7 separate regions of the Homo sapiens genome follow, and regions 2, 3, 4, 5, 6 and 7 are each linked to region 1. The links are contacts of gene promoters, found by promoter capture Hi-C in blood cells and fetal thymus (Javierre and others, 2016). All regions are on one chromosome and are shown on one strand. The core of a region is centred on a gene start or on the middle of the fragment in contact, and the rest is flanking DNA. Distances in the headings are between cores, read along the strand shown.

Evidence for each region. Contacts are between HindIII fragments. The CHiCAGO score rates a contact against its expected background, and 5 or more counts as called.
Region 2: a fragment that was not itself captured here is called in contact with the fragment with the promoter of ARSJ in region 1 in 4 of 17 cell types (total CD4 T cells, monocytes, naive CD4 T cells and 1 more); the score reaches 6.1 in total CD4 T cells.
Region 3: a fragment that was not itself captured here is called in contact with the fragment with the promoter of ARSJ in region 1 in 3 of 17 cell types (non-activated CD4 T cells, naive CD4 T cells and total CD4 T cells); the score reaches 7.5 in non-activated CD4 T cells.
Region 4: a fragment that was not itself captured here is called in contact with the fragment with the promoter of ARSJ in region 1 in 1 of 17 cell types (total CD4 T cells); the score reaches 7.1 in total CD4 T cells.
Region 5: a contact is called between a fragment that was not itself captured here and the fragment with the promoter of ARSJ in region 1, in 1 of 17 cell types (non-activated CD4 T cells). The highest score is 5.4, in non-activated CD4 T cells.
Region 6: a fragment that was not itself captured here is called in contact with the fragment with the promoter of ARSJ in region 1 in 1 of 17 cell types (naive CD8 T cells); the score reaches 5.1 in naive CD8 T cells.
Region 7: a fragment that was not itself captured here is called in contact with the fragment with the promoter of ARSJ in region 1 in 1 of 17 cell types (monocytes); the score reaches 5.1 in monocytes.

What each region holds. Positions count from the first base shown.
Region 1 is chr4:113,977,746-113,981,642 of GRCh38, reverse strand. ARSJ (arylsulfatase family member J) reads left to right here and starts at 1,996. Exons shown (of 2, transcript NM_024590.4): 1 at 1,996-3,206. The coding sequence starts at 2,809. It overlaps LOC107986305 (a long non-coding RNA gene), which reads right to left and starts at 1,830. Exons shown (of 2, transcript XR_001741794.2): 1 at 1,657-1,830; 2 at 115-1,273. LOC124900762 (a long non-coding RNA gene) reads left to right here. Exons shown (of 3, transcript XR_007058237.1): 3 at 679-748. The HindIII fragment of the contact is 10,512 bases long and covers 1-3,897 here.
Region 2 is chr4:113,484,445-113,488,341 of GRCh38, reverse strand. The region is part of intron 16 of CAMK2D (calcium/calmodulin dependent protein kinase II delta); the gene reads left to right. Among named protein-coding and RNA genes, the nearest start is that of CAMK2D, 280 kb to the left of the region's middle. The HindIII fragment of the contact is 917 bases long and covers 1,618-2,534 here.
Region 3 is chr4:113,512,025-113,515,921 of GRCh38, reverse strand. CAMK2D (calcium/calmodulin dependent protein kinase II delta) reads left to right here. Exons shown (of 21, transcript NM_001321571.2): 10 at 731-853; 11 at 2,009-2,092; 12 at 2,552-2,594. Among named protein-coding and RNA genes, the nearest start is that of CAMK2D, 250 kb to the left of the region's middle. The HindIII fragment of the contact is 4,836 bases long and covers 1-3,897 here.
Region 4 is chr4:113,532,931-113,536,827 of GRCh38, reverse strand. The region is part of intron 7 of CAMK2D (calcium/calmodulin dependent protein kinase II delta); the gene reads left to right. Among named protein-coding and RNA genes, the nearest start is that of CAMK2D, 230 kb to the left of the region's middle. The HindIII fragment of the contact is 2,029 bases long and covers 703-2,731 here.
Region 5 is chr4:113,586,605-113,590,501 of GRCh38, reverse strand. All of the region lies in intron 4 of CAMK2D (calcium/calmodulin dependent protein kinase II delta), which reads left to right. Among named protein-coding and RNA genes, the nearest start is that of CAMK2D, 170 kb to the left of the region's middle. RefSeq lists an enhancer at 1,957-2,126. The HindIII fragment of the contact is 3,852 bases long and covers 1-3,735 here.
Region 6 is chr4:113,611,385-113,615,281 of GRCh38, reverse strand. The region is part of intron 3 of CAMK2D (calcium/calmodulin dependent protein kinase II delta); the gene reads left to right. Among named protein-coding and RNA genes, the nearest start is that of CAMK2D, 150 kb to the left of the region's middle. The HindIII fragment of the contact is 558 bases long and covers 1,516-2,073 here.
Region 7 is chr4:113,642,781-113,646,677 of GRCh38, reverse strand. All of the region lies in intron 3 of CAMK2D (calcium/calmodulin dependent protein kinase II delta), which reads left to right. Among named protein-coding and RNA genes, the nearest start is that of CAMK2D, 120 kb to the left of the region's middle. RefSeq lists a cis regulatory region at 647-658, enhancers at 581-725, 482-986 and a silencer at 2,831-3,125. The HindIII fragment of the contact is 6,339 bases long and covers 1-3,897 here.

The DNA.
Region 1 (3,897 bases), core at 747-3,246:
TCTGTATTCGCAGGGTCTACATTATGGGACTCAACCAACTATACACTGGAAACATTCAAGGAAAGAAGAAAAAAAAATAACAATACAACAATAAAAATAATACAGTCCAACAACTATTTTCATAGCATTTACATTGTATTAGGTATCATAAGTAATATAGAGATGTTTTAAAGCATAGAAGATACATTAATATGTAGGTTTTATACACATAGTGCACCATTTTACATAAGGGACTTGAACATCCATGAATTTTGGTATCCCTCAGGGTTCTGAAACTAATCCCTGATAGATGCGACTGTATATGTGTGTATGTATCAGTATATAGAATACTATGGTTAGCACATGGTAAGTATTCCATACATTTTGATTGTTTTTTATTATTATTGCTTGGAACCTCAACTGAAAATGTGTCTCCTTCTTGCACAGAACATGGATACTTCTTGTGCTATGTCACAAGAAGTCACTATCTCCCCAAATAAAAGGCTAGATTGACCAGAATGTTTGCATCTTTCCCATTCAAGCACCTGGCTAGGCCCATTAAGCCTAGGGCCCTACCTCTCAATGCTTTTCAATCCCCTGACACTCAGTACTCTCATTACATATTTGGTGACTTAATTTACAGAATTGCTAAACTCACATTTCTGAACATGGCTTCTAAAACTGACTATCTCTCCCCAGCTTAGCCAGAAGGGCTGCAAGGAAGAACAGAGACCAGAAGGCCTACAGCAGCTAGCAAGGTTAACTTCATGGAGCACCATCGTGCCTTTCAAAGTTCCCATTTCACAAAGTTTTGCCTGGGAACTCAGCAGGAACTTTAGCAACAGGAGAGAATTAGAAATAAATGGCTAAATGAAACCTAGATTTATGTTTCAGTCAATTGAGAGAATCTGACATGTTATGTGCCAGCCCACAGTAGGTATTCAGTAAGTAACTGTTGAATAAATTTGGTGGTAGAAAAAAATATCTCAGTGGCTCTTGGCATTCATTGCCTCTTCTATAGAGACTATACTATACATCCCTCTGCTGCCTTTGAGCAGGACTTTAAAACTCTATGACTCTAGTAAAATCAAGAGTATTTTCACAACCAAGATAAGTTTTTACAATGGTTTTCCTCCACATGGTAAAAAAGAAAGAAGGAAAAAAAATGATGAAGCTCCCTGAATTACTGGATGGGAAACACTGGCTTCTTTAATGCAGGAATGCAGACTGGCTTCGGGGTTCTTGAAGGAGAAATGCATAACTCTTCCTCTCCAGGCTTTTGGCTGGAGACACCCTGTGGGTAAGTTAGGGGAGAGGTAAGAGGGAGCGGGCAATTCCAGTATTTTCACATAGGGAAAGGGTAACGAAGAATCAGGCTGTAAAAGCCAGCTATTGGGAGAGGAAATAAAACTTAAAAATTTGTCATCGTTACTGAAAAAAAAAAAAAAAAAGGTAGGGACAAAAGGAATAGGAAAATGATGGGGGTGGGGGGACTAGTAAAGGAAAACCTGCAAAGGAAGTTGGAAAGAGGAAAGAGTGTCATACGCATTTTGTTTTTATTCCTGCTCCTTCTCTCTCACTCCCTCCAGAAGCTAGAAAAAGTTTGCAAGCGCAACTTTAGGGATGGGAGACGGGGCTCTTCACCAACAGCCCCACGAAAAGAAGTGCCCGCTTTACCCTTCCCCATTCGCGCCGCCGTCCTTTCCCTCTAGCGGGGTGATGGGCAGGAGGCGACACTCTTGGGACGCGGTAGCCCAGGCGGATCCCCCGGAATCCCGCTGGGCTGGAGCAGCACGCAGCTCTCTCTCTGGCAAAGCCTCCTCTGCCTTGGCCATCCACCTCCCGGAAAAGAAAAAGGAAAGATCGAGCCTCTAAACAGTCCTTTTCCCCCACCCCCTCTTCCCGGGGGAGCTCAGGAAGAAAGTACCGTTCTGTGATTCACTGGAGAGAAAAGAGGGAGGAGGCAAAAGAACTCGGAGTGCCAAAGCTAAATAAGTTAGCTGAGAAAACGCACGCAGTTTGCAGCGCCTGCGCCGGGTGCGCCAACTACGCAAAGACCAAGCGGGCTCCGCGCGGACCGGCCGCGGGGCTAGGGACCCGGCTTTGGCCTTCAGGCTCCCTAGCAGCGGGGAAAAGGAATTGCTGCCCGGAGTTTCTGCGGAGGTGGAGGGAGATCAGGAAACGGCTTCTTCCTCACTTCGCCGCCTGGTGAGTGTCGGGGAGATTGGCAAACGCCTAGGAAAGGACTGGGGAAAATAGCCCTGGGAAAGTGGAGAAGGTGATCAGGAGGCCGGTCCACTACGGCAGTTTATCTGTCTGATCAGAGCCAGACGCGACGCGTCCACTTCGCAGTTCTTTCCAGGTGTGGGGACCGCAGGACAGACGGCCGATCCCGCCGCCCTCCGTACCAGCACTCCCAGGAGAGTCAGCCTCGCTCCCCAACGTCGAGGGCGCTCTGGCCACGAAAAGTTCCTGTCCACTGTGATTCTCAATTCCTTGCTTGGTTTTTTTCTCCAGAGAACTTTTGGGTGGAGATATTAACTTTTTTCTTTTTTTTTTCCTTGGTGGAAGCTGCTCTAGGGAGGGGGGAGGAGGAGGAGAAAGTGAAATGTGCTGGAGAAGAGCGAGCCCTCCTTGTTCTTCCGGAGTCCCATCCATTAAGCCATCACTTCTGGAAGATTAAAGTTGTCGGACATGGTGACAGCTGAGAGGAGAGGAGGATTTCTTGCCAGGTGGAGAGTCTTCACCGTCTGTTGGGTGCATGTGTGCGCCCGCAGCGGCGCGGGGCGCGTGGTTCTCCGCGTGGAGTCTCACCTGGGACCTGAGTGAATGGCTCCCAGGGGCTGTGCGGGGCATCCGCCTCCGCCTTCTCCACAGGCCTGTGTCTGTCCTGGAAAGATGCTAGCAATGGGGGCGCTGGCAGGATTCTGGATCCTCTGCCTCCTCACTTATGGTTACCTGTCCTGGGGCCAGGCCTTAGAAGAGGAGGAAGAAGGGGCCTTACTAGCTCAAGCTGGAGAGAAACTAGAGCCCAGCACAACTTCCACCTCCCAGCCCCATCTCATTTTCATCCTAGCGGATGATCAGGGATTTAGAGATGTGGGTTACCACGGATCTGAGATTAAAACACCTACTCTTGACAAGCTCGCTGCCGAAGGAGTTAAACTGGAGAACTACTATGTCCAGCCTATTTGCACACCATCCAGGAGTCAGTTTATTACTGGAAAGTAAGTGTTCCTACTTCTTATATTTATTCCTTGGAGAAATCTTAAGCATTTAATGAAGATCCAGCTCCAAATTTAAGGGAGTAACAGAAAGTATGGGGAACAACTGAATGAATGAAGAATGAATGAATGATGTATGGTATTGGGGTACCGTGTTAAAATGGATACAATGTTAATGATCTTAATTTTCTAGTCACTAGTGTAGTCTAGTTTTCCTTTTTACAGAGCCAATTATAAGTTTCTAAATGAGATGAGAACGTATAAATACCCACAAACCAGAGATTTCCAGAAATGGTCTCCTGTTTCAAATCTATTCTACTTTTGAGCATGCTCAGATTTTGTTTCAGATGTCATACTAGAATTCACACTCACCATCACTGATAAGAAAGATCAAAAATTTTTTTTACTCTTGGTGCATTCTTAAATCTAGAATTATCAGAGAAAATGAACCAACGAAACAGATATAGAGTAATGTAAAATATGACCAGTTTATGTATGACTCTGCTTCGGTCTTTGATGGGTCATTTTCTCTTATGAGACCCCCTAATGAAGGCCATATTTAATTAGCAAAGCAGTTCTCAAAATGCAAGGAAATACAATGGTAAGTGCTCAAGAGGAGTCAAACTTCATCTGCAGTTTTCTGTTGCTCTTCACAGGTCTGGAATTTTCTGACTAACCAACAGAAATCAGACTA
Region 2 (3,897 bases), core at 827-3,326, 490 kb after region 1:
TTATGTGGGAGTTAAAAATACAAGAGGTAATCAGACTCACACTTTGTGTAATCAAAAATTTCATAGTTATCCAAATATAATTTACTTTATAATATAGTTACATAAATGTTGATTATAAAACTTTCTCATTTTTGTTCATGTATCTATTTTTTTCCCATTACCTAACAAAAATTGTCCAATTTAATAAGCTACTAAATCTAAGGTTTGTGTAAATTTTAAAATATTATTCCTTCTATCTTCTTTATTTTTTCAGATTATGGCTTTATCACTTTTTTTAAGTGATGTAAAATATAAAATGTCAGCAAGGATCTGATTTGAATCTGAAATCTATATTTGAGCAAGTTACATAATTTACCTGTGGCTCAGGTTTCCTCATAACAGCAGAATGTAGATATTGAAATCAATAATACAGACTTTTAAGCTCTTTTTCTACTCTACTGTGATGCAATACTATTAATAGATTATTGTAAGATCTCTTTATATAAAATGATACATTCTAATACATATTATTATAAAACAATTAGATGTTAATAATATAAACTATTCAAGCAGTCACAGAAAGACATTTAACTCAAAGTTTAAAGAAACAATACACTGCTACAGTTTTAGGAAATCTTATTAAAACTGGGAAAAAATGGTGTTCACCAACCTGAATATCCAAAATGTTATCAATAGCACTATAGGACTATAAAGTTACTACTTTAAACACATTCCAGTGAGAATTATTATGAGGTCAAATTTTATGTTTCTAAAGTTTCCATACAAAATTTCTTTAATATCTAAAATTAAATTAATATTTGAGCTCATTCATTTCTATATAGAAGTTAAATCCTAATTATTTGCTATGTTTTTCTTAACTATGAATTTTATGTAATTCTGAAATTATTTATTAGAGTAAAATAATTGCTTGAGTGAAATAATGTCTCCTTTGCTGAGTTTGTATTATTTTATACCAATAAATATATCTATAAATTATGTAAAGTTATATGTCTATATCATGATTCTTTTTGTGAGTAAGTGGAGTGGCCCTAATTTTATTTTCTGCTATGGATTTCTGCTATAACCCCCTTGATTTGGTCAGGAGGAATTAGGTCTAAAGTATTTAAGAAATTAATCTCAATCCTGTGCAATTTTAATATCCCACCAGGTTACAGGTGATTTTATCTCAAGCTAATATGATAGATGATAAAGTAAGGAAAAGCAAGATATTAGCAAGTGAAAGCAGAGAAGACATTATTCAGTGAGGAGCTTAATGAAAGAGCTTGTGTAGAAATAAAGAATTTTTATTTTTCACATCCGAAACAGTGGTATTTTCACTTTTCAATTTAGTGCAACAAATATTTTATGAACACCTGTAATGTATAGTCTTCTAACTAGACTCTAGAAGATTTAGAAAAGAAAGATGATTCTACAAGATAATGTTGCAGGCAAAGACACAAATGATTGAGAGAGTTTCAAACGGACTGGGCTAATTCTGAGTGGATTATAGGGACTGTATTCTAGTATAAATCAATAGAGAGTGAATCGTGATCAATAGCACTTAACTAAACTACAATAGTTGTGTTCAGTCCAGGGAGGGAAACTCAACAAGGCAGCTTTCCTAAACATTTCCAAGCTTTGTTGTTATATTAAAAAATAATTTAACAGCATTGGCTATCATGTAAGTATAGCATCAGGAAGCAGAGATTGGGTATAAGAAAAACATAAACATGCCAAGGATTCAGGCTTAATATTCTTGTACTTGGAGGTATTTTTGGCCATAAAGTAAAAATGCAATCAATGTATTGGATAGATGTAATGGCACACATTTTCTGTCTGTGTCTTTGCTGTGAGTTTTCCTTTCCAAAGTTCTGCAATATATTAAAACTGAAATATTGAGTTTTCTTAATAGTTCTGAGGTAAGAAAAGATTATAATCACCCAAGCCCAGTGGCTCATACCCGTAATCCCAACATTTTGGGATGCTGAGGCCAGAGGATCTTTTGAGGCCAGGAGTTTGAGACCAGCCTCGGCAATATAACAAGACCCCATCTCTACAAAAAAAGAATTTATAAAAATTAGGCATGGTGGCACACACCTGTAGTCCCACCTACTCGAGAGGCTGAGGCAAGAGGAGGCCAGGAGTTCAATACCACAGCGAGCTATGACTGCACTACTGCACTCACTCCAGCCTGGATGACAGAGCTAGACTCTGTCTCTTAAAAAAAAAAAAATCAAAGGAGGAACTACTTAATCTCTTTTTTGTGACTTTCTTCTGAAAATTGAGTTTATAGAAAGCTGGTCTAATCTGAGAGAGTTCATTCACTCTTCATATCTCTTCACCAATGGTCATTCTGAAAGGACTCCTCAAAGATAAAACTCCTGAACTTAGCTTTAAAGGGGAAGGTACTATTAACCAGGTGAAGAAGGTGCGAGAGGAGAAACATTACCAATAGAAGGCACAGAAACAAAGCATGGTATGTCTGAGGTATTGCAGGCAGTCAGGATATTACTGAAGAATGAAATGCAAGTTGGAGAGTGGTAGCAGATCAAGCTTGAGAGGAGGGAAGGTGCTAGTTATGGGAGCATTGAGCCATATGAAGGAGCTTGAGCTGATCTAATATTAAGAGATGAGAGGCATACATCATAGACAAGGATGATTCTGCAAGATAATGTACCAAGCACCTGAGGAATATCAGAAAGTTTTAAGCAGAGGAAAGATGTGGTAAGATGTCCATAGGTAGAACACTCTGGTGATTCTGTGGCATATGTATTTGAAGGCTATAAGACCAAAGATGGTTAGACCAGTTTTAAGACTATGTCTAAAGGGAGATACATGGTCAAGGGAGGGTTGAGTTTTGTTTTGTTTATGTTTTAGGATGAATGAGTCTAGATCAAGTTTGTAGGCTAATGATAAAGGACAAGTAGGCATGAAGAAATTTGCTGATCATTTTTACATTTATTTAGTAAGTTACTCTTTCAGCAAATATTTAGTGAGGGACTATTGAGTGCCAAGCCCTGTTAAAAGCGCTGGATATTCAGAGGCAACAACATAGATAGGATTTCAACTTTCATGAAAGTTAGATTTTAGTGGGCAGAAATAGCTAATAAACAAGGCTCATAGTTTCTACCAAAGACTTACCCTTGGGATAAAAATGATCACAGAGTAGCTAAAGACTTTACCTTACATTATCCTGATTAAAAACTCCATTTGTTAAGTAGGTCTTATTAACCCAGTCTTTCAAAAGAACAATCTGAAGCTTAGAGAGGTTAAATCATATAACCACTAAGTGCTTTAACAGGAGCTGGGATCATGCTTTGAACCACTGCACTGAACCACGTGGGGATTTATGGAATCCCTCAGCCCTCACATTACTCCAATATTATATCGTATGCATTTAATAATATGTAAAAGTATTCCAGAAAGGTTAGTGGCAAAGACACTTGCCAGGGAGGTTTTCTATCAAACATGAAGACTTCCAAGTTAGGTAGCACAGTCTAATCTTACATCTGCAGGAATCATCTTTTGCTCCTGGGATCAGGTATGAGGTCCTAAATAATGAGGAAAGATGAAACATAATTCAGGATAATAGCTTATCTTTTGTAAAGAGCCCCCAAAGAACCTTAAAACCATTTCTGCTTATAAAGTTTAGCTCTAAGGCTATAAAGGAATGTGTTGACTTGATTGATAACAGCATGTTATTTGTCAGTTTTTGTGAAGTTAATTCTACTGAATAGAACCAATTGGTGTCTTGCATCTATATATAAAATGCTGTACCATTGTATTTGTAAAACATTTTACCACTATGTTTTAGGGCTTTTTTAAAAAATCTCATTTAATCTGTACAGCAAGCTTGTAAAATCAAGAAATACAATAAAGAAGGGACTCAGGACATTGCAACTATGTTTGCAATGTCCT
Region 3 (3,897 bases), core at 836-3,335, 470 kb after region 1:
GTAAAGAAAGGAGAAGTAGCTTTCTTATATAGTCTTAATATAAAAAAGTATTAGTAATGGGAAGTTATAAGATTTGATTACTTTCATATACTTTGGTGAAATTTGTAATTGGGCAGATTAAACTTCTTGAAGGGTTAAAATGAAATCTTGCTGAAGCTCCTGTAGTCTCAGATTCTTCTCACTACAGCACTCCAAGTAGCCCTGATTAATAGGTCAGTTTTGGCACAGGAATTGAAGCTGTTTTATTACCTCTGCTATTACTGCTTATGAGTTGTGAAAGTATATAATACCTCATTTTGAACCTTGGCATAATATCATGATGACATTGGTACATGTAGCAACCTGTTTGCTTTTATTAAGTTTTGCAAATAATTATGAGAAAGATTGTATAAAATTTCATTTTCAGATCAAAGCAGAGATACTTTGAGAAGAATAGAAGATTCTTAAGTTCTTTTTTTCTGAATTTTAAAATGTATTTACCATATGTGATATGCAGCTCAGTACATATGTTGGTCCCTTATCAGATACTCTTTAATATATATAGTTGTCTACATAGAGGGGGAGAATAGATCTAAATGGTTTTATTTATTTTAGATACAACTTAACTTATATAAAAAGTAAATTTATGAAGAAATTCACTACTTGAGGGAATGATTCATGTAGTTGACTCTTCCCTGTTTGATCGAGTGTGTCTATTTTTTAAACTTTTTATAAATTTATATTTTTGAAGTTTCCATCACCAGAATGGGACACGGTGACTCCTGAAGCCAAAGACCTCATCAATAAAATGCTTACTATCAACCCTGCCAAACGCATCACAGCCTCAGAGGCACTGAAGCACCCATGGATCTGTGTAAGTAAAACTTCTCCAAAACTTCAAGAACTAAAATGAAAAATAAGCTCTCCTTTAATATATTGTTTATGGATTTAAAATAGCTTTGCAAAAAAAGATGAAACTCAGAATGAATGAATTTTTGACTCGAGGTGTTTAAGAAAATTAATTTTATGATGGTGAAAAAATGCAATTTTCAGTAGCAAAGTCTGAATTGCATAGATTCTTAAATAAATATTGCTTGCAGTAACAAAAGGAATGAGTATTCTCCATATCAATTATTAACAATACTCATGAACAAGGTTAAGAAAATAACACCAAAATTAAATGTGTCCCAGAAGAAAAGATTTAACAAAGTTCAATTATTTATCATTAGGCAACTTTAGAAACAAGTATGAAGTTTGGCAGCTGACAGTAGAGTTTCAGTGGCGTAAAATAATGGTCATAGTAGTCTGAATATATTTTAGAAATATTAAGAAGAATAGTGTGAAATTTGAGGGGGATCTGGAGACTTCAGTAAATTTCCAAATGTGTCAAATGCTAAGGTGATAAATGTGGCACTAAGTAAATGAAAGGCAGCTCAATCAAAATGTGATTGAAGACATTAAAATAAAGATAATTTGAGAAATTATTAATATTCATTTCTATACTTTCTGGTTTGGTTTTGTTTTGTTTTGAGACAGAGTCTTGCTCTTGTCACCCAGGCTGGAGTGCAATGGCACGATCTTGGCTCACTGCAACCTCCACCTCCCAGGTTCAAGCAATTCTCCTGTCTCAGCCTCCCGAGTAGCTGGGATTACAGGTGCCCACCACCACGCCCGGCTAATTTTTGTATTTTTAGTAGAGATGCGGTTTCGCCATGTTGGCCAGGCTGGTCTCAAACTCCTGACCTCGTGATCCACCCGCCTTGGCCTTCCAAAGTGCTGGAATTACAGGCGTGACCCACCGCGCCCGGCCCATTTCTATACTTTCTATACGTCAGTGTTGCATCTTGGTCACAAGTAGTCTTGGCAAAACTAAAATTTTATTTTTAGGTAACTTTGGCAATTGAATACTTAGAAGTTGATCCTGCAGGTGCAGCACCATTAATAAATATTTGATGAAGTCAGGGACATTATTATACTTAGTGTGTTTTAAATATTCTCAATTAAGTTACTTTTTCTCCTCTTCTTCTAGCAACGTTCTACTGTTGCTTCCATGATGCACAGACAGGAGACTGTAGACTGCTTGAAGAAATTTAATGCTAGAAGAAAACTAAAGGTAAGAAATTTTACATTTTTATGGGGAGGTAGATTTGACAGACTAAGAAGTGAAATACTGTGTGAGGAAAATAACTTCTAGCAAAGGCTTTCAATTATGTAGACCTCAATACTCTCATTATTCTTTTTGGGGCTCTTGGGAAATGGAATATACACCAGAATCAAAACTATGGTGAAAAGCTGGAATCATCCTGGCAACACATGCTGTGGATCCTTCCTTCAGTGGAAAACAGCTGTGCAATTTGATAATCAGAATCTGGCCCGCACACTAGGGCCGTCCCAGCATCATGAGAGACAAAGGCCTTTGACTCTCAGGAAACCAAAAAACAAAAACAAACAATAAAAAATCCCCTAACTGAAAGTAGGGCCAGGAAAAGATTTGTTATCAAAGACTCTATATTTGTTAGGTCCAGAATTTGCATAGGCAACACTGACTTTTGTGTTCTAATTTTTTTCACAGGGTGCCATCTTGACAACTATGCTGGCTACAAGGAATTTCTCAGGTACATGCATTGGGAACTCTGCTTCTTATCCCTTGGTCTTCTTTTTAAGTAGTCTCTGTTTTTTTGTCTCTGGAATTTTAAAAATCTAATAATTAGAAAAACTTCATTGTTCAGGGGTGGCAAATGTGTGGCACAGATTCCTTCTACACCTATGGCTGCCATTAGCAGTCTACCTGGGTGCTGTCTGCTGCCGAGCCTCCGTGACTGAACCCCTCACAAGACTGCTTCTGGCAGCAGTGGCCACCAGTCAGTGCTGGTGCAGGACTAGCCTCATCTGTCAAGTGCTGGGGTGCGCACGAGTTGTGGAAATAAATACTCCCTCATTTACGATCTCAGCGTTTCAAACCTAGAATTTATTACTGATATTTCATAAAGTAATAACTTTGAATAAGTTATTTTTGGTCTCATTTTCATAGGGAATCCTAGTATGCAAGATTTTTAAAAGAAGACCATTATTGGCCGGGCGTGGTGGCTCACGCCTGTAATCCCAGCACTTTGGGAGGCCGAGGCAGGTGGATCACAAGGTCAAGAGATCAAGATCATCCTGGCCAACATGGTGAAACCCCGTCTCTACTAAAAATACAAAAATTAGCTGAGTGTGGTGGCGCGTGCCTGTTGTCCCAGCTACTTGGGAGGCTGAGGCAGGAGAATCACTTGAACCAGGGAGGTGGAGGTTGTAGTGAGCAGAGATCACGCCACTGCACTCCAGCCTGGCGACAGAGCGAGACTCCGTCTCAAAAAACAAAAAAAAGGGAAGACCATTATTGAGGAACCCAGTTCTCTTAGACCTAAGTTCATTCAAAAGTATAGTATTTTCTTGGTGTACTATAAAAGTGATTACAACTGTCAAAGGTATCTAACTCAAGAATTTACAGAGCACCTTGCACTCAGTACTATCAGAGCATAATAAATGTCCCTCAAAATGATTCCATGGTAAAAATAAGTTTGTTAAATAATAGGCTTAAAGAAGCCAAGCCATTTCTTTATTGTAAGCGTCACTCTCTAAAAGTGGAGATAAAGTATATATTACTCCAAGAAATTACTTGAGTTTTGCAACCTCCTTCTTTGATAGATTGTCTCAAAGGACCAGGTTCCCAAAAGTCAAATCTTGTTCAATGCTAAGCAGTCTTATGTAGGGGGAAGGACTGGAGCAGCAATTAAGCCGCACTTGGTAACCTTTGGCCCTTTAGACTTGGAACACTTGTCAGCCAAAAATACTACCAGTTTAGTTTGGATACAGTTTACATAACAGTGATCTGCAGCATCAAACTGTCCAGCTATTTTTTCAATTCTTTATTTTGTT
Region 4 (3,897 bases), core at 468-2,967, 440 kb after region 1:
CAGTTTCCTCTCAAAAATTCTGATAATTTAGAAATTTTTATATGATGAAATTTCTGCTTCTTTACAATTAAGGAAGAAATTAACTCTAAATAAATTTAAATTATAGTATTTCTAACCAGACTTATGTTTTGTTTCAATATTCAGTCTGAATAAATTATTTACTCATTAATTTTCATATGCCTCTCTCTGCCATTTTCCAATATCCAACCCACTTCCCATGTATAGTTCCAAAAATATAACCTCTCCCCAAGCCTGTCTTGTCTTCTGACTTTCGGTGTGTTGAGGTTAGATAATTGTTTTAATGCCCTTCATTTCTGATTTATTTTCCTCTGAGCAACAACAACAAATAGAGGACTAAAAACATGCTATTTCTTTGTTTTATATGCAAATACTTTTCTGAGTCCCTAATGTACACATCTCCCAAGATGTACATATGGCTCCCAGGATTCACCACATCTCCCTTTTCTGCCCCAGCTGTTACTGGGAGTGGAGGGTGTGCCAAGCCTCCCTGGCAGCCTAATGCAGGACCTCAGTTCCTGCTGCCTGTCCTTTTTCAGTAGTACCTGACAGTTATTCTTGGTTGAAGTCTCTCTCATGTTTAATATTATCTTTTACATTATCTTTTTACCCTCCAATCCTAGATGAATTTAATACCTCCAAACTTGTCATTCTGTTTATAATATTTTAACTTTTTAATAAGCTTGTACCCATTAACTGCAAACTGAACGAAGGTAGGGCCTAGATTAGGTCTGTAAATTAGAGATTCAGATGATCTCTGTATCCTGGAAAAGAGTACAATTAACACAGAAAGAATATATTGTAACAGGAGTTAAGGGTTGAACAGGAAGTAGTGGGGCTATCACAGAGATGGGCAAAGCAAATACTAGAGATACATAAATTAAGTAGGAAGTCCTGACCCTGGAGGAGCTAAGGCTTTTGTATCTATAACTATTTACCATTCAGGGTGGAAGTATCTTAACATAGGAATGTATGAGGTGCTGTGGGAACACAAGACAGGAAGTACAAAAACCTGCCTCTGGAGAGAGGTTCAATAATTGCCTTAACACTTATGGTTGCCTAAAGGATGAATGGGACTTTGCTCACTGTCATGCAAGAAGATTAAGGCATTCCAGACAGAGGGATCTGCACATGGAAAGGCTCAGAGGCATGAAACTATTTTTTCTATTACAGTAAAACAAGAAGTTTGATAAAGCTAAAGTATACTCGAGTGAGTAGTAGTTAATGAGGCAGGAAATGATTTTATGTTTTTTTGAAGGATTTGGATTTCACCTTAGAGATTTTGGGATCTGGTGAAACATTTTTAGAAGAGAGGGACATAACTGGGTGTATGTTGTTTAATAATGATTCCAGTAGAAGTATAGAAGATGATTTAAGCATAGTTAATCTGCAAGCAAGGACCCAGTTAGACTAAAACAATCGTTCAAATTATGCATGATGATAGCGTTGACTAGGGAGGGTGTAGGAGCAAGCAAGTTCCAAATAACATACAGATCAGACAGGAAATATGAACTCTAAGGGAATCTGTTTAGGAAACATGAAAGTCCCAGACATTGGGTTCAAAGACAGGACTCGAGTCCTGTGTAGAGCAAAGCAGGACCCCACTTCATGAGAGACTTGGGGTATGAGGCAGGATACAAAAATGGGAACTTAGGCCCAGGGATATAATTGCCAGAAATTGGTAAAGATGATGATAGGATATCAGGAATAAGACAAGCCTTTGTTATCAGGTCTGAGGCTCAAATTAGCATCAGCAGCTATGTTTGATGATTACAAGAATGTTGGAATCAAGCTCCTTAAATCTCGTCTGTTTTTGAGCTTAATGTTTTATCTCCTCTGCTATGACACATATAGTTTGAGAGCAGGGCTATGTGTAGTGGAAAAAATTTTACTTTATGAATCAGAATATATGAATTTATATCTTGGCTCTGATTCTTAACAGCTGTATGATATTGAGCAAGTCACTTTAAATCTGTGAGGTCACTATCCTCTTTGTAAATGGGATAATAAACACTTCTTCACAGGACTGTTATAAGATTGAGTGAAATAGTCCATAGAAACTTGATTGAGCTATAAAGGATGTTCAATAAGTTTTCAAAATTGTCTTGGTGTGAAACAATGACATAATTCTTTGCATATTCAGTGAGAGTTGTTTAGTGAATCAGTGAGTAGAGGACTGAATATCAGGTCAGTAAAAGCAATAGCATCCAAATAAAAGTACATAGATTTTCAAATTGTTACTGATTTCTAAAAACAAGCTGGTCCCAAAGAAGCAGTGACAGCTCAGCAATAAAATTTCCACTTCATCAGCATGGTGCTATCAGCAATTAAGTTATTGTTAAGGTACCTGTTAGAGTAATAACTTTTAAAAGAAGCAACATCTTAAGTTCTAAGGCAATTCAGTATTTCAGAAGTACAGAAAAACAGAGTGTCTAAACTTGGGAGAATATACTTCTTTTTTCTCTTTCTTTTTCTTTTCTCAAGTTCAAGCGAATCTTCATGGTAATCTGAGAAAAAAGGAGATGTGGTGTTCTACGTTTCTTTCAGATGAGCTGCCAGATATATTTTAAGTATTAGGAGTAAAGGCATGTTTTAATAATGAATGACCTGTTTTGATGTTTATTCATTATGATCTGCCATTATAGTCCCATATATTTTTACTGATTAATTTTATCTTTCAAAATGTAATATCAGTGTTTATGGAGGAAAAGCTTTGTTATTTTAATTTTGATAAAGAGCAGGACTCTTTCTTCATTATGTGGAATACCAGAGCTTCAGGCTTTTACATAATTTTATTTTAATAAATATACGAGGTCCATTACAAATAAGAAAAAACATAGTATGTATACGAAACAACATAATAGATAATACAAAGCATTATGGAAGCTGTTTATTGTTTTTTTTTTAATTATCATTTTTCAAGTCCCAACTTGTTTGTTTTTTCCCATATTTACTTTTCATTTTCTAGTCTGGTCTGTTGGAATACTAGCCAAAACTGGTAGAAGTAAACACCCTGTCACTATACTTGATAAGATGGCTAGAAAATTTACCAAAAAGAAATATTCAAATATATTCTGTTTCTCTTATGGAACTGGACATGTTATTTGCAATACATTTCTAGCATTTTGTTGCTGCTAGAAAAAAAAAAGATAACTACCAAGATCTTGGTTCATGGAAGAATTATTTTGCTTTGTTGCTGTTATGTCTCTTTTTTATGATATTAAGGTTCTTTTTATGCCAATGTGTTACAATGGATACATTTCCAACAGTCAGTAATTCTCTTTTCTCTTTGTGTTATCTATTTTGATTTTCTTATTGGTTTTTCAAAGTAAGAAACATATGCTATCCCTAAAAAAGGCAAGCTCTCATTACTTTTTCTATTGATGGCATGTAGTATGATAATCCTAGATTCTTGCAAGTTTAATTTCCCACAGAGAAGGTCTTCTCTATTTTACCCCCCATATGTCTGTATTTATGAGGTCACATTGTACCGTACATTCTTTCCTAACGTCCATGCATTTAGATATATGCTTCAATATTCTTGGGGTAAGGACCCCATTGACTGCTCAAATGATGGTTGTAACTAAATAAGAATGAGCATGCTGGTATTCTCTTAGAATTTTAGTCTCCAGAAGAGGTTTGTAATAATTTATATTTTAAATGATCTTTTCATTTCTTCCTCACATAGTAACTTACTTCCCTATCTTAGGGAAGCTTAGGAGAGGTATTGTTAACATTTCGTACTTCTGGCCATGTATTCTAAGTTATTGAAATCATACATTATTAAAGTTTACTGATTTAGACAGAAGAGTACAGATTGTATATAAAAGAGTCATTGAAATTCAGGGTGAGAAGGGACCACCGAGAACTGTAGGTAAC
Region 5 (3,897 bases), core at 560-3,059, 390 kb after region 1:
TCTTGAATCATGATTATCCATTGACTTTCACTGTAATTTCTTATATTTCTTGTTAAAAGGGAGGATGGGGAATCAGATTTTAGAATTTTCTTTAAAGGAGTTCTGTCATTCTCCTAAATAACATACTTTTTTCTTCTGTGTCTGATATATTTCCATTTAATTGCCTGATGTTTCTCTTAGCAAGAAATTAAACCAATATACTATCAAGTTAACCTGTCTGTCTTCCCTATCAGATAGATCTCTATCTATATTTGTTTTCTCAGTGTCTTGCTCAGTTTCTGGAACTAGAAAATGCTCAATAAATATTCATTGAGCCAAAGTGAATGTTTAAGATTCTACATTCATTTATCCATTCACTTATTCATTCAACAGATACATTTAGTGTTTTTTTATGTAGCTGGTACAGTGCTGGTCCCTGAAGCCCAAAATGAGTAGGATTTTGTGCCTCTCTTCAAGATATTTTAAGTCTTTTGAATATTCATTTAACCTTATTAACATGCATATATTCAAAATATCATAGAGGTAATTTGGCCATACCATAGAGGTAATTTCCTTCCACCCTTTTGTATCTTCTTTGCGGGTTCTTCCTCATCTCCCAGACATTTAAACGTAGGAGTACAAGGGCTTGGTCCTTGGGCATCATGCATTCTCTGCTTATACTTGCTTCTTAAGAATCTCATCCAGTATCATGGCTTTAAATTATTCCATCTATAAGCTAATGATATCCAAATTTACAACTGCTACTCAGACCTCTACCCAAACTCCAGACTTGCGCATTCTGTTGCCTACTCACTATCTCTACTTGCATGTCTAATTGGCATCTCAAATTTAAGATATCTAAAACAGTTCTCCTCATCTCTCTAAGGTCAAAGTTACTCCTCTTAGTGGCAACTCCGTCTTTTTCAGGCTCACAGTCCAAAAACCTTAGAGTAATTATTGACTCATTGCGCCCTTCTCTTACTTACCATATTTGACTCATCAGCAACTCCTATTAGATTCAAAATACATTCAGAAACTGAATATATTTCACTCCGCTCCAGCCATACTGCCTTACTCATAGCCTGGTGCATGCTAGGCATATCTCAACTTCAAGACATTTGCACTTCTTGAATCTAATATATTCAGAACTTGAATCTGTCAGAACTTGAATATATCTTGAATCTCCACAGCACCCCCTTGGCCAAAACCATTATCATCGCTTGCTGGATCACTGTAAAAGTGTCCCAACTAGTTTTCCTCTTTCTACCCTCACCTTCATATAGTCTTCTCTCAACACAGTAGCCAGAGAGTTCCTATCAAATTCCAAGAGCATGCCACTCCTCTGCTCAAAACACTCCATTGCCACATTGCCTACTGCTCTCCTTCTGACCCACTCAGCCCCAGCCACACTGCCTACCTCACAGCCTGGGACATGCTAGGCATATTGCAGCTCAAGGTATTTGCACTTCCTCTTTCCTTGGCCCTGAGTGTTCCTCTCCCAGAAACCTGCATGGTCTCCCCAGCTCTCCTCTCAGAGCTTGGCTCACAGAGGCCTTCCCTGCCCACCAATCTAAAAGTTGATCTGCTTTCTTCACCAACTTTTCTTAATTCCTTCCTTGGCTTTTTTTTTTTTTCTTTTTTGACACCACTATTAAACTACCATGAATTAATTTATCTGGTTAATTTTCTATATTACCAACTATGACGTAAGCTCCATTAGTGCAGGGACTTTTTTCTCTTTTGATCACTATTATCCCCAGTGTCTAGAGCACATAACAGATGTTCAATAAATACTTTTGCAGAAGAGCACATGAGAAAACTTCTGGGAAGAATATAGCATTGTTTTGCAAAGGGTTTAAAGAGTTGTAAGTGAATGTTTTAGGTTTTCTTTCATCTACTTGCTACTTTGGTTACATAATGGTGCCTCAGTGCCAACTATTGCCTAAGTAATAGTTAATTAGTATGCTCAGAATCATAGAAATTGATTTTTGGTCAGTACTAAAACTAGAGATTTGGTTTAGCCAAGTATCTGCTTTTGAGCAAAATGAGACATCATGATACGTTTTAAGAAATGAAAATAGTTATGCCTGTATGGTCTAAATAGAGGCAGTGTTGTCTCACATGGTATTTATGATGTACTTAAATTGAAATATGATTTTTCTTTATTATTATGATGCTTAATGATTTGAAGTATCAGTATGTACCATTTACCTTGTCTTTTTCTTAGAAACATTTGGCTACTTATTTTTAGCCAGCAAGTAAAGTAGGATATTCAATTACCCGGGGAGCCTGATACTAATGGCTATAATTATTTAAGCAATTGAAGTCTTTCCTGTCATTTTCTTTCTCAAACCCACAAGGTGCCAAGACTGAAACATGCAACGTATATACATGGATTAATATATTTTCTCAGTGGTTGCATTCTTCAATGGAGTCTCTGGAAAGAAAGACTCTTTTGTTTGCTTTTTTAATCTCTTATTTTGGAATCTGAAAACTATTCAACCCTTTCCAGAAATGTTGACCCAAATGGGGCATTTTCATGGGCAGAAAGAAATATTTTCTGCCTGCTCTTGCTTGAACAAAGAAACCTACTGATCTGGATGACATCATCATCATATTTGGCTTCTTTTCCTAGTATTATTGATGATACAGACTTTTTCGAAGGGTATGCTTAGCTGATAATTGTGAAACCCAAAACACTTGGGGACTATGACTAGCGTGTACTGATGATAGACAGCCTCATGCCATAGGAATTGCAATATTTAGACCTTTAAAATTTAGGCCCAGAGTTTGGAAAAACTTTATAACTGACTGTTACTAATAGTCTGGAGAAGGAAGAACACTTTCCATATACACTTAGATTTAAAGCATTGTTTCTGTAACTTTGTGTTTCAATATTAACTATTTCTCAATGAAACTATTTCTCAAAGCAACCTCAATCCTTCAGTTCTCTTTAGTTGTTCAGATAATCTCTTCCTAAAGAAAGCAAAAAATAATTAAGAATAAAGACCCTGCTCTTCCTTTTGAGTGTTACGGTGTGAAAGAGAGTTTTAGAGACTGGGATGTTGTCTCTGCTGAAAAACCTAACTATGTGAATAAGACCTAAGAGTAAAAAGCCATAGTCACAAATGAAATTTGCCTCAGGCGCATGTTACTGAATTGCCTTTATCAGCATGTGAAATTACTTGAAAGTCATTTTGATTTTGTAAAAGAATGTCTGGCCTTAATAAGAGTGAACATTTGTTAAGCACTTACCATGAACTCCTCCTTCTCAAACTGACAAGCATATACACATTGTCTCATTGACAGTAACTCCATAAGGTATATAGTATTATTCTAATTCTTCTTTACAGATGAAATTGAGGGAGGAGAGTTTATTTGCTTTACCTAAGGTCACAGAGTAAGTGGCTGTGCTAGGATTTAAACTTAGATTTGCCTGACACTGAAAATAGTGCTATGAACAACTGTAAAATATTGCTTTATATTTACTCTTTAGCAGAACTTAGATGATGGGGTATTATGTGCTTGCATTTAGTTTTGAATGGTTTGTTTTTATCTCTTTCCTTAAAACAAAAGTTAACAAGAGACTTTCTGAAGTCTTATTTTTTATTCAAACTGTTTTTTGTATCCCTTCCTTGTTCCATGACCCTGTTCTTTTACCTGCATGCCCTGAACATGGAGCTAACGGACCACCAATTTTGTCTCTTTATTACTATAACCAGCGAATATTCATAGATAGAGGCTTTTCTGTAAGCTTCTGGATGTTATAAGCTCTCAATCAGTAGTACTGGAGTGGGTTTGTTTCTTAAATAAAGAGATAAAGCCTAGGTTTGTGAGAGCTGGTTCTATTTGGACCAAAGCATGATCAGAAGGTGTTTTAGTAACAGAATTGAGCTGAGCCTCACAACCTAGGTTGTT
Region 6 (3,897 bases), core at 545-3,044, 370 kb after region 1:
GTATATATTTATTATTTTTAATTTACAAATGAACTTAATGTTGGCTTCCCTCTTTTGGGGTAGACTTGGCGTGTTAGATGGCCTAACTTGGCTAGTGCTTGTTTTAGCTATGAATTATAATTAACTACTGATGGGAATATAAAAAGGATCTGACTTACAAGCTGCCATTTTTGCATCCCAGTATGTGAACCAAATCCAACTACCTCAATCTTTGAAACACAGCAAAGCTAAAAATGCAAATTCTGCCTCATTAATAACCAGGACTATTACTCAGAGCTGACAAACAATGATTATGAGGATATAATACAATCTGTTCTGTATGAATTACTCTATTAGTATCATGATAATATTGGCAGCATTGCCCTACCATGCTCAGTTTTAGAATTTTTACTAATTCTTTCTTACTTTCTGAGGTCAGACTCATTCTTTTTTTCTGCTAAATTTGCTTATGATATTGAAAAACGTATTTGAGGACAATGTGGTCAATCACACATTTCAGATTAAGTCTTTTCTGTTTATTTATCTATTGTTAGGTAACAATCCCCATCCCAGATTTAATGGCTTAAAATAACATCAGTTTATTATTTGTGATAATTCTATGAGTTGACTGGATTCAGTCAGTTGGGTGCTCTACTGTAGCTGAGGTCATTCATGCAGTTTCGTTCAGCTATGACCTCTGCTAGTAATAGAATGTCAGAATTATCTCTTATCCTCAGAGGTTTCTCTTCATGTGGCCTCTTGTCTTCCAATCGAACCTGATCTTTTCTTTTAGCACAGCAAGTGGTTTCCAAGATTACAGCTCCAATGTAGAAAACATATTAAGGTTTTGCTTGCATCACACATGCTACTCACTCAAAGCAAATCACATAGCCAAGCCCAGAGGTAATGTGGGAGGGGACTGCACAAGGACATGAATAATGATAGACATAGTCCACTGGGGTCCACCAATGTAATTGACTGCCTCCTCTCCATAATAAATTTTAGTGAAGAGGAACAGATAGTGAGTTTGGGTTGTATGGCAGAGTAAGAATCAGTATAATTTGAACCAAATAATATTTTATATAAATAATTTCATAAAATTATAATTAACAACCTTGGTTTTATTTTGTGTGGGGGGTACTGTTAAGAAATGGAGGAGGAAAGAAGTAGTACTGAAATAGAAAACATTGACTTTGTATCCTGTCAGCCTTTTAGGAAAGATATTAAGTCTCAATAAAATAATATATTCCTTTTCTTTTGACAGAAGTGTTTCTAACATGTGTCATCAAAATGGATAAGGTGTACCTAATCACTGTTGACACAGTTTCTACTTGGAGTTTAATTTTCCTACTCTTTTCCCTCTTCTCCCTTGCCCATTCATTTCCACTTCCTCTCTCTCTCTCTCGCTCGCTCTCTCTCGCACACACACACATACACACCTTTTTGTCCATGTTATCATAATGTCCATGATGTGAAAGTTAATTTTTGGAAATGAAAATGATTTAAATTTATGATATTTTGTATGTTGGGTAAGCTTTCAGATTCTTCAACTTGCTAGCATTTTTGGTACATTAAATGTTCTATCAGATAAAATAGCTGAGTCACTGGCAATTCTCATATTCTTAATTTGAAGTGGAAAAATAACAATTTTCTGGGGCTTTAGGAACTGTATAGAGAGACAAATGTGGCTTTGTATCCTAGACATCATCTAGCTACCTCTGTACCCTCAAAATTATAGCATCACATTTTAAACCTACAGTCAAAATGGTTTTCTTTTTCTGTGGAAATTGTCTGTTACGTACTTGTTACTACTTTTCTTTCTCTAGTCACCATAATAATTTTTTTATTTCTTCTCTTTTGAATTTTTTTTGAATATTATTTTACCCTGACAAACCAGTTCATATCCCACCAGGTATTTGGCAAGTAGTTTGTTCACAGAAAGGTTTCAGGGAGCCCACGTAGTATTCTCAGTAAGAACAAGGTCTTTGGAATCATCCAACTCTACATTTTGGTCCTAGCCAGGCCAATTACTTGCTGTTAACCTGGAAGTTTCCTCCATACCTCTAAGCCTGTGAACATTCATTTGTAAAAGCTTATGGCAAAATGTCCTTGTGGTGCTTGCATATATTAAATAATATAACTCTTGCAAAAATTATTTGCATTGTGCCTGACAGTAAGAACATAAGTTTTATTATATCTTTTAACCCCTTAAGTGAAATGAGGAATTAAATAGAAAACTTCTATCATATTTAATTAAAATTTCTCAGATCATACAAGGACCATGGTCTATTTGACCCCTTCTTTATGGAGCTAATATTTAGCTAGAAACTGCAATGGAATAATGCAAGAACACAGAACAGGAAGAGAAAGCAGCGATCCTGCAATCATTCAAATGTGATAATACATGCAGGAGAGAAAGGAAAAGAATTAGGCCATGGGTCAGCTAACCTTTGGAACTATTTTTAGCCTCAGAAGCACTTTTATCCCCCTTATAAATTCCATACTTAAAGTTCCAGAATTTAAAATTTGATGAGAACTGTTGTGCTGTTTCAGGTTGTGAAAATTCATTTATTCATACACGTAATTTTACCTTTGAGCAAACTTCAAAAAGAATGACTGCCAAAATGTATTATAACCTGTTTTCTCAAATGTTTTTCTCATTCTCTTTTTTAAAATTTCTCTCTAAAAACGTCATAGGGACAACTGTAATTAGGCTAATTGCGTCCACTCATATGTGCAGCTTATGGCAATAACAGAGCAGTCATAGAAAGAACGAGGTGCAGTATGCTTCAAAATGCAGCATCTGCAGTGCTGTCAAGGCCAGCCATGCCGTCAGTCTTGAGCTAACAGCTGTGATGAACAGAATGTTGTGTTATTCCTTTGGTGTGAAAATGAATTGACAGTTATTTATAGGGAATAATTAATGTAACATTTTGTAAAAGTAAACATGATTTTCAATCCTTGAGAAACTGTTAAAAAGGAAAAAAAGAATAGGAAATGAAGGATACTTTTGACCAACAGAAAAGGCTTGAAGAGAAATAGATGATGTCTACAACTAAAACACTATCTTCCAGACCGTTTAGACATACCATCAACTCTGAGAATAATAGTTGAAGAGTTAAACATTTTTAAAGGAAACAAACCCATCCTCACAGTAATTGTGAACATGTGGAATGTCTCTGTGAAGACTATAGTATCTACTTTTGTTAATATAGTAAGTAAAAATCATGACAATTTCTTATAATTCTGTTTTTTCAGTTCATTATTTAAAATAAGAGAGTGGAAGGAAGTAGGGTGGGACATAGGAAGGAAGGAATAAAGGAAGGAAGGAAATATGTATATATTAATCCCAAGTAAATATGATGCTGAATATGTGATATGAATAACACATTTATTCATAATCTCGCATGGTCAAATGGCTGGTTAGACATATTAGAGATTATTTTGGAATTGTGTGATGCAAAAGAAGTAAACTTGGCTGAATGATTTGTCTCAAACCCTTATCACATGTTAGCTGGTTAAGTGCTTTTGTATCATGTGTTTGATTATCATGTTTCCATCTGAACAGTAACTCCTGACTTGTTCAAAAAATAATTGATTTCTGAATGATGATATTTAGTATTAATTAGTATTAATAAGTGAATGGAAATAATTTTAAGAAAATGTTATTCCCAGGATAGACAGAAATTATTGCTACTTCTCCAGTTGTACCTGAAATATTCTCCTCTGTTCAGCTGTATACCTCTTCGATCTGGACACCTGAGATCCCACCTGCACCTAAGGCTTTTACCTTCAGACAGTGGAAGAAAGTAATGGTGATTTCCTCCTGGTCAGATTGTAGACTTTACTTTTCAGTTTAACTTTGATAACATGGGAACCCATCTTATTTTCCAGAATAATTGTTATGAGTTCTTTAAG
Region 7 (3,897 bases), core at 653-3,152, 330 kb after region 1:
CCCTCAGTTGCTCTGCTCCAACCCCTCTGGGCTCCTTGCATTTCTTCACCTGTTCCTGATATCCTCCTGCTGGGCCTTTGCCTGGAGTTCTTTCTGAGGATACAGCAAGGAGGCATGCTGGCTCACTTCCTGCAGGCCTTTGCTCATCCAAAGTGGAGGCCTGCCCTGACAGCTGTGTGTGAAAGAGCAGCCTTCCTCCCCCATGCCCCACCCAGCACTCCCTAGCATCCTTCTTGCTTTATCTCTGATGCACTTAACAAGATTTTGTATATTTACTTGTTGATTTGATTGTTTTCTACCCAGTAGTATGTAAAACTTCATGAGGGCATGGACTTTTCTTGTTTATTATTGTACCTAAAAAAGCACCTGCCGTAGAGTCTGCGCTCAATAAATACATGCTATAGGAGTTAAACAACGTGTGGGTACATATATTTTTTTTAAGTTCAAGTTTAGATTATCTGAAGAGGAACAAACACTTCTATTAAGAGAAAAGCATAAATTTTAACTTATGGCACAGCTGTTTTGTTTAAGTTCATCTGCAGGCTTTTGCTTTCCTTCTGGCTAAAATGACTATCAATGGCCCTGGGCTGGCCCACACCTAAAGACTGTAAAACAGGAGAGCAAACAATTGACTTCTCCCTGACTTGCTAAGTCAACAAACCACATGAGTCAGCAAACCTCTTTTTACTGCCTGACCTTCCTTAACATCTCCTTATCGTATTCTGAAATTCCTATTCTGCTGGCTGGAATCTTGGCCCAGACCCTTTTGGTGATCTTTGATGTGTTTCTCATACACCCTGCAGCATTTGAATCATCTTTGTCAGGAGTGTGAGGGGCTCATGGTCTCTTTTATGTGGCAGACACCTAAAACTGCTAGCTGCTTCCTTACCTTCCTCGGGAGCATTTTGATGATACTCCAGAAAGCAGAACAGCACTATCAATAAATGTCATGGATTTTTTTTTTTCTCCTTGCTGGATTACCTAGCCTTTCAGATAAGGTTGGATAAACCTTATTCTAGGGTAGCCCTTTATTTGACTACTCTACCCTTCCAAGCAAAAAGCTGCTTTTCAAATGAAGTTATCAAACTACAGTAGTCAGGAAAGAAAGAGAAAGGTTGGTTATCTCTCACTGTCACTTGGGAGCTCTGTCCTGGAACAAGGATTGACAAACTTTTCTGTAAAGCACCCAATAGTAAATATTTTGGGCTGTGCTGGCAGTGCTACCTCTTTGTCATTGTAGCACAAAAACAGCCACAGAAACTTCATAAATGAATAGGTATGGCTATGTTCCAATAAACCTTTACTTATGGACACTAAAATCTGAATTTCATTTAATCCATCTCAAGATGTAAAAAACATTCAGGCCGGGCATGGTGGCTCATGCCTAAAATCCCAGCACTTTTGGAGGCTGAGGCGGGCGGATCATGAGGTCAGGAGATCGAGACCATCCTGGCTAACATGGTGAAACCCTGTCTCTACTAAAAATGCAAAAAATTAGCTGGGCGTGGTGGCGGGCGCCTGTAGTCCCAGCTACTCAGGAGGCTAAGGCAGGAGAATGGCGTGAACCCGGGAGGTGGAGCTTGTAGTGAGCCGAGATTGTGCCGCTTCACTCCAGCCTGGGCGACAGAGCGAGAGTCCGTCTCAAAAAACAAAAACAAAAACAAAAAACAACAACAACAACAAAAAATTCTCAGTACAGGCTGTTCAAAAATAGGTGGTGAGCTGAATTTGGCAATTGAGCTATAGTTTCCTGACCCCTGCTCTACAGTGAGATGACTTCATCTTTGTGGATTACTTGGACCTTGGAGGTCTGCTGAACTCCCTAATGCTTTTTTTTCTTGGATCTGACAAATAGCTTTATTTGTGTCTCCCGGCCACTTTGTAGATTCTGAATCCTAGAAGGGAGAAGCTAAAATATCTGGGTGCAGTGATGATCTGCTTTGCTTCCCACTTCTGAGTTTCTCTAATTCTGGAAGATAGTGTCATTTCAACTCTGATTTCTGGTTTAGCTCAGCTCTCAATTCTAGGTCTAATGTGATACAAAAAGCCTTACACCTGTTGCTTGGTTTTGTTTCAGTCTTGCTGTTGGTCTTATTGTTACCTACCTTCTCGGTTGCCCATTGACTAGATTTCTTGCCTCATGATAAAGCTCTGGATAATAGCTGCCTACCTCTTGGTGCCTTCATCTGCCAACCACCACACCTAGGTAACCTATGAATTTTAGACTTAAGCTGAGACTACTCAAGGCTTCCCTTTATTCATTTTCCTTGGGAACTGATGATCTATTTCAGATTACCTTTGAATTTACACACAAGTGCTGCTTCTAGAATAATTTTGACTCCTGACTTTTGCTCTTACTTTTAAACTTTTGTCCCATTTATGATATAGGTCAGCTTTGTCTTCATTTGGCAGATTTGTAACCATCTAAGCCAAGAATCTGACAAGATATTATTTTTTCTGTTTCTTCTGATTTTATTGAGGTCTTTTTCTTTTTGAACCCATCTGTTTCCCCATCTTTCTCAAAACACCCTGAGTATACCAGGGTCTGCACGTCTTATGAAGTCAAAGTTAGAATCACTTCAGTTGTGAGCTTGCCTTTCTTAATTACACAAACTTCTTCTGACAATAATAGGTATAAACTAGAATGACATAATTTGATGTAATATAAGACCATTTTTCAGAGTACAGAAAAGCATATTGTATTCACCTTGATTTGCAAATATCTCATGAAGAGAATTACTTTATTCTTTGGGCCTATTTTTCACTTGTAAAGCTGGCCTGGGTCCCCATAAATACTCTGTCCAGTTTAATTTGAGTTTAACATGACACTGAGGAGTAGTCTGATATTACTCAGAGAGGGTGATACAACTCTGAACTTGTTGGCCCTTATCAGATATAATTTAAATTTCCCCTGGAAAGGGAAATAAGCACTTGGAATCAAGGCAAAGAGCCAAATCCAGCAGATTATCAAGATGGTCGGTGGGAGGAAAGTCTGATGGTTTCCGCTGCTAAGCGTGGGAGATACTGACCTACTCTCATTCACTTACTTTTGTACATAGATGTAGACTGTGAGCTGCCAAAATAGAGAACAATTCTTACTTTCTGTCAGCAGCTTATCAGAATTCCCTGACCTCCAAAAATGATGAACACAGTCCGGACCCTGTTCTTATGACTGGTGATTGATACAGCTGGCTTAGCTCTTGTTTTTTGACTTGCTTTTATTGGGCCCTGGACTATTTGTTCTACACACTTTAAATTTGGGTGCATGAGCACCCAGGTATGACTTCATAGACAGCCCTGTTTCTGATCTGAACCTATCATACTTGCCTCTGGCTTTGCCCTTTTATCCTCCCAACTCTCTACACTAGTGCTTCTGCCCTTGTTGGACTTTTTTTAAAAACTTTTTTATCATGTTTGTATCTTATATCTTGGAAGACAGAATTATCCCTTTCTATTGAAATATAATACTTTTAGCATATATTTGAATGAATATAGATTGAAGAAATGTAATGTCACTTGTCTTCCAGGAAAGACTTTCAGTTTTGTGGATTAAAACATTTGGTATTTTGATTGTTTAATTTCTAATCTTGATTTATAGGACACAGATAGTTTCTGCTCTTCTTTTGTTACATATCTATTTGTAAATGATTTGGTAATACTGTTCAGATGTTCCCTTTTTCTAGCTTTTCATTTTAAATTGTAGTATCTTTCTTTTATTTTATAGATATAGTTTAGCATGGTCTCTGCTATGGTTTGGATGTAACTTGACCCTGCCCAAACTCTTATTGCAACCATAATTTCCAGTGCAGCAAGGTGTAGGGTAGAAACTGTATGAGAGGGGGCCTAATGGGAGGCTTTGGATCATGAAGGCTTTGCCCTTGCCCTGGTGGGCAGTTG